2 separate regions of the Homo sapiens genome follow, and region 2 is linked to region 1. Evidence: promoter capture Hi-C in 16 types of primary human blood cells and fetal thymus (Javierre and others, 2016). All regions are on one chromosome and are shown on one strand. Each heading gives the region's core, a stretch centred on a gene start or on the middle of the fragment in contact. The rest is flanking DNA. Distances are from core to core; before and after follow the strand shown.

Region 1 (3,081 bases), core at 36-2,535:
AGTTATTTTTCTTAGTTCTTATATTATTTAGAAATACTAATTTCTTACAAACATTTTTCTTCACTAACACTTTAAAACATAACATTTTGTTCTTAATGTAATAATATGGCTTAGAGAAATAAAGAAGTGCTAATATTGAAATACAATTGAAAAAAGAAAACACTTTTCCTCCTAGATGACAAATCAGATTTTCTAAAGTGGGCAATAAAGTTAAATCCACTGAGAACTGGAATTTAATTTTATTGAAAAGTTTTGAAAATGAGCTTCTCTTTTAAATCTATTTGAGAGCATTCTTTTCTTTTAGAGTCTTCATGAAAAATCCTGTCTGCACGTTATGTAAAAGCTATTGATCTCTTTCAATTTTTAAATAAAGAATCTAGCCATAACTTCGTGTTTTGCTACATTGGAATATTCATGACATAAATATATAAAGATGATTGAATTGGATAGAATCAAAATATTGACATGTCTTATATTTGATTTCCAGAGTTTCATTAAATTGCAAGAACCCCGAAATATGGACATCCACATGTACTGGGAAAATGGTTTCCAGAGAAATCATTAGAAAAAAAATCAGGTCACACATACTATTTGTTCACACCTTAATCAACATACAAATGCTGACATTTATATATATTGCTTCAGTCTACAAATTTTAGAATCTAAATGTGTTAATAAAAAAGGCATATTTTTGAACCCAAATAAATTTACTATTTGTGTCTTTCTGAATATCTAAATTTAATAATCATTACAAAGTAGCCATCAATAGCTAATTATCTATAATAGATATTCACATTGTAGAGTTAATTTTGTTGCCCAAATGACATGAAACAAAAATGGCCTTGAACTATTCTGCTAGAAATGGTTTTTGCTATGGTAATTACAAAAATAAGAAATTATTTGCATAACAACTTCTCATAGAATTAGGTAAAAATAATTTAAATTAGCTTACCCCAAGCCTCTACTGAAATTATGTATCAACTTTAAAAATATATTTTAGTTACAAAATTATCAAAAAATGATTTGGTATTTTTATAAAACTGTATTGATTCATCACCTAAAGCTGTAAAATGGTATCAGAATTTGCAAAAGGATTTTTAAGGTGCCAGAAAATCATAAGAAGTTTTAATATTTGCAAACATATGGAAATGGTACAAATATACTTAGTAAACAGTGGAAGAAAGAGATTAGATAATGTAAAATGATAGCAATTTTGCTGTATGTAAACGCAGTACCTTAAGCCCAAGTCTGGAGAGAAGCAAGTTGTGTTGATGACCAAGATGATGGCCGATCTCTTTGCTTTACGCTATTTAAATGTGGTAATTAGAAAATGCTAATTTTGTGGTTTCAGTTCAACCAATAGGTTTATTTAAATTCTAAGAATTCTCCCAAATAGGAAACTAATTTTCTGTCCAATTCCTTTCCCAGGAAATTCTGAGAATTTTCAACAGGGAGTGATTCATGCTATGATAACAGATTACACAAGAAATAAAGTGGCATTATTGCAAATTAAAATACAAAAATTTCCAAATTTATGGCTATTATAAAAACATGATTTTATGTTGAAGGGATAATTTGACAGGAACATATTAATAAAATTCTCTGTATATCTTTTGAAAAATTCAATTCCTATAATGGAAATCCTGGGGACAAAATAGGGTCTTAGAAACGTTCCAATTTCTATCAGTGTACCAGGCCATTAAAAGAATTCATCATTTATTTACCTTTTAAAATGCAGCTTGTCCTCTATTATTTATTGTGACTATCTGCTTTATGGATTAACTTATACTGTATATGCTCTGATCTTTTTTTCAAAGAAGGATATCCAACTGTCCTATGTGTTTTGGTGATATTTAAGCTACAGCAGACAATTTTTTGTTTGCTTTCTTTTAGGCATATTGGTTGTGATAGTATTTATTTAACAAATTATAACATTGACTAATTAGAAGTAATATTTATTCATTAATTTTAATTTTAAAAGATTTTGGAAAATTATGCCATACCTCTGATTTCCTGTTTTTTAAAAGTAAATAAAGGAAAGAAATGAAAATGCCTCTCTCCTATCCCAGACTCTGTTCCTTTATGTTAACTATCATTATACAATGTAGAAAAATACTATATCCTGAGGAAAATATCTGTAATAGAGAGGGTTTTTAAAAATTGTTGTTGACTGCGACTTTGCTTTTTTACAGGAAAAGAATCATACTATATATTTTAGGAAATAAAAAAATAGTAATGATATTTACAGCCTTTTCACAGTCATATGAAAAGGGCATTATTCTGGGTTAACACACATTTCAGACTGGTTAATTTCAGATTGGGGATCAGAAGAGATGTACTTTTCCATATTAAAGTTCTCTTTAGTTAGTGTTTTCCTTACTGACTACATCACATAAATTTCAACAACTTACTAGTGTTTCCTATTCACTGTGATTCATTTAAGAGGCTGAGACAAGCATCAGCTGTATTACAGTACCTTGGTTTTGTCTTTTCCCAGAAGTGTACCCAGGAAAACTGATTTATTTTACTCCTAACTCAAAATCAAGCTATACCTACCAACCAAAAAAAAGGCCAGGACCAGATGGATTCACAGCCGAATTCTACCAGAGGTACAAGGAGGAGCTGGTACCATTCCTTCTGAAACTATTCCAATCAATAGAAAAAGAGGAAATCCTCCCTAACTCATTTTATGAGGCCATCATCATCCTGATATCAATGCCTGGCAGAGACACAACAGAAAAAGAATTTTAGACCAATATCCCTGATGAACATCGATGCAAAAATCCTCAATAAAATACTGGCAAACCAAATCCAGCAGCACATCAAAAAGCTTATCCACCATGATCAAGTGGGCTTCATCCCTGGGATGCAAGGCTGGTTCAACATACAAAAATCAATAAACGTAATACAGCATATAAACAGAACCAAGGACAAAAACCACATGGTTATCTCAAAAGATGCAGAAAAGGCCTTTGACAAAATTCAATAGCCCTTCATGCTAAAAACTCTCAATAAATTCGGGATTGATGAGACATATCTCAAAATAATAAGGGCTATTTATGACAAACCCACAGCCAGTAT
Region 2 (3,300 bases), core at 398-2,897, 65 kb before region 1:
TAACCCAGTTCCTTTGTTATTAAACAAAAAACGTTAGATTATTTATTTGTAAATTATAAACATCTAAATAAAGACATTTTCAGTGAAACACATAATTGCCACAAGAGTTACAAATAAATGACATTTTTACCTGTTTATTGAAAACTATAGAGTAATTCATATAAAGGTAATGGTCTTCATTATTTTAATCTCTTTTACCAATAACTTGTGATAAAACATTACAAGAATATTTTTTACCTAATTATAAAAAAAATTACTGTTATTAATAACCCCAAATCTCCAAAACATAAAGCAGAACTCATGATTTATGGCATTTGCTTTGTTACTTATTCACTGATTTGCCTCAGTTATTCAAACTGAAATTTCTGGCCGGGTGTGGTGGCTCATGCCTGTAATCACAGCACTTTGGAAGGCCAAGGTGGGCAGATCACCTGTGGTCAGGAGTTCAAGACCAGCCTGACCAACATGGAGAAACCCCGTCTCTACTAAAAATAATAATAATAAAAATTTAGCTGGGCATGGTGGTGAGTGCCTATAATCCCAGCTACTTAGGAAGCTGAGGCAGGAGAATCACTTGAGCCCGGGAGGTGGAGGTTGCGGTGAGCCGAGATTGCACCATTGCACTCCAGCCTGGGCAACAAGAGCGAAACTCTGTCTCAAATTAAAAAAAAAAAAAAAAAAAAAAGGAAATTTCTGGTATTAGAGTAAGTGTAAAAATAATATGTACTTTGGGGTTTTTCTATCACCTGATAGATAAACCTACCCATCAGTCATTTTATGATGCAAAAAGCATAAAAACTTTAGTGTATTTTATACCTGTAAATTTTATTGAAAGTATGGAATCAAAAAATGCTCATAGAAGAGTAGTTTTGTTTTACTAACCTTGATAAACTGAAAGATGGATATATAGACATAGATATATAAATATATATGTCATGGTTTTAAAAAAATATTTCCCCAATGAAAAATAATAAAAATATGAAATAGTAAAATCTTTGTTTTCTGCCATATCACAACTGAATGAAAACAACTTAAGTAATATAAAACAGTAAGGCAGTAAAGCATGACTGTTATACAACATTTTTTATTATGCAGAATGACATAACTGTTTAAAATGATGGAAAGGTCAATGAAAAGGTAGTGAGAAATGTTTACTTATGGGAAAAAAGTAAATTTTTAAAAGTTAAACTTGTGAAACAATATATACATTTGCAAAAAAGAGAACGTATGCTATTTTCTTAAAATATGAACTTCGAATAAAGGTAAAAGTAGTAAGTAGCAGAGTAGATGCCAGTACGTAGACAAGGAAATAAAAAGCTTTTCAGAAGTTCCATCAGGAGAGAAGTTGGAATATGTCTCCATATTCCACATTATTTACTTTGCATGATGATTGCTGATTTCAATGTATAGTTATTCAGATTCTCAACTTACCTTCAGATCCTAAGAAGGTCATCATTTCTCTCAATTGTTTCTTTATGAGAAATTATCATTACATAAATACACATTTTTATAATTAGTTTTCAAAAGATTTTAGGAAGCAACACTCTAGATTAAGACAACATATTCGATTATACATGAACATATTACCTTTTACTCAAGATGAGACTACAGAAGTAGTGAAGTTGAAGTGAAGCTTCAAGAGATGATGTGCTACCCTAGAGGGCCAATGTATTTAAACACTCTGAAGTCCCCCATTTGTTTTTGTTAAATAATGGCAATTATGAGATCACATTATGGAAACTAAAAGTAATGCCCAAAATCTGTCTCTACAAATGATAAAAATAACCGTAACAAAGTGATTTTGCAATAGATGATTGTGAAGACAAAGTAACCAGGAAACAACTGTACCCACTGCATGTTAATCCCACTGTTAGTCTAGCGCTGAGTGAGTCAGATGACAGAAAAGCATGCTGGAGGAAACCAGGCATAGAAATAATTGCAGTGATAAAGATGTTTCCACAAGTATGTGTCCAAGGTGGAACAACTCTATGACACAAATAATACTTACCATGTTATCAAGATTTTACATGTTCTCTGATAACTCGTGGTAACTGGCATAATAAAATTACAGTCTTCATATACTTCAAGAGTTTTTCTTCAAATCATTATTTATCTCATACTTTTACCATCTTCTATTGACTTTAGAATATTTTAAGTTACAAAGTGAACGTAAACATTTGCCAAATTCAGTAATCTTTTGGGTACTATATGATAAAAAATTATTATATTTATGGTGAAATGACTCTAAGTGCTCACTGATACATATCTCACATATGACTGAATATATGTATTTGGAAATTCAATTTAATTTCCTGGAGTTTTTAAGGCTACATATTTTTCCATAGCAGCCATGTGTTGACATGATTACACTAGAGTGAAGGAAAAAATGTTTTCATTACATTCCTAGGAAAATTTGTGTAAAAATTACCCTACTCACTGCTGGTTGGATAACTCAATGTACTAAGAAACGAATATCAAAAACTTATATATAAAGTTGAGGTAAGTTATACAGCCTAGTGCATTGTTCCTCAGAGTGTGCCATATGGGAACATCACAGACAGCATCAGCTGGAGCCTGTGGAAATGTAAATTCTTAGTCCACCTTCGCAAACTTGCTGAGTCAGAATCTTGGGGTTGTCCTAAGGCGTTTGCATTTTAACATTATCTCCAGGTGATTCTTTGGGTACTGTGAAGTTTGAAACAAGGCTGGTCTCAGTGGCTCATGTCTGTAATCCCAGCACTTTGGGAGGCCGAGGCAGGAGGATTGCTTGAGCATAGAAGTTCAAGAATAGCCTAGGCAACATAGTGAGACCCGTATCTCCACAAAAACATAAAAAAAAAAACAACCACATATTTGTCTCTTGAATGCATTAGTTATCCTTAGGCTTTAACCAGTAAAGATAATTTGTGGTTTAATTTTGTATCAGATTTTTTAAGGAAGTATTTATTAGGTAAATTTTTATGCTGTATTGGAACAGCCTTACTGGAAATTATGATTACTCTCTGGGTAATATACAAGAAAATATAAATCATTTCTTAAGGCAAATAAATAATTCAAATTAAATTAGATAGATATTATTCTTATTCTTTTGTCATGAGATTTATAAGCATTATAGATACAAAGTTTCTTCTCATGTGTAAAACAAACACAATCTCTTTACATTCTGAGTGGAAAAAAGTTACATAGGGTTCAGTAACTATTTTATTTTTCCAGAGATGGGGTCTTGCTGCATAGCACAGTCTTGAGTGCATTGGTGAGATCATAGTTCACAGATGCCTGGAACTCCTGGGCTCAAGTGGT

Evidence for each region. Contacts are between HindIII fragments. The CHiCAGO score rates a contact against its expected background, and 5 or more counts as called.
Region 2: a contact is called between the fragment with the promoter of STATH here and the fragment with the promoter of CSN1S1 in region 1, in 2 of 17 cell types (neutrophils and fetal thymus). The highest score is 6.0, in neutrophils.

The regions. Positions count from the first base shown.
Region 1 is chr4:69,929,272-69,932,352 of GRCh38, reverse strand. CSN1S1 (casein alpha s1) reads right to left here and starts at 1,285. Exons shown (of 16, transcript NM_001890.2): 1 at 1,236-1,285. The HindIII fragment of the contact is 13,101 bases long and covers 1-2,832 here.
Region 2 is chr4:69,994,313-69,997,612 of GRCh38, reverse strand. It overlaps STATH (statherin), which reads right to left and starts at 1,647. Exons shown (of 6, transcript NM_003154.3): 1 at 1,588-1,647. The HindIII fragment of the contact is 2,895 bases long and covers 1,636-3,300 here.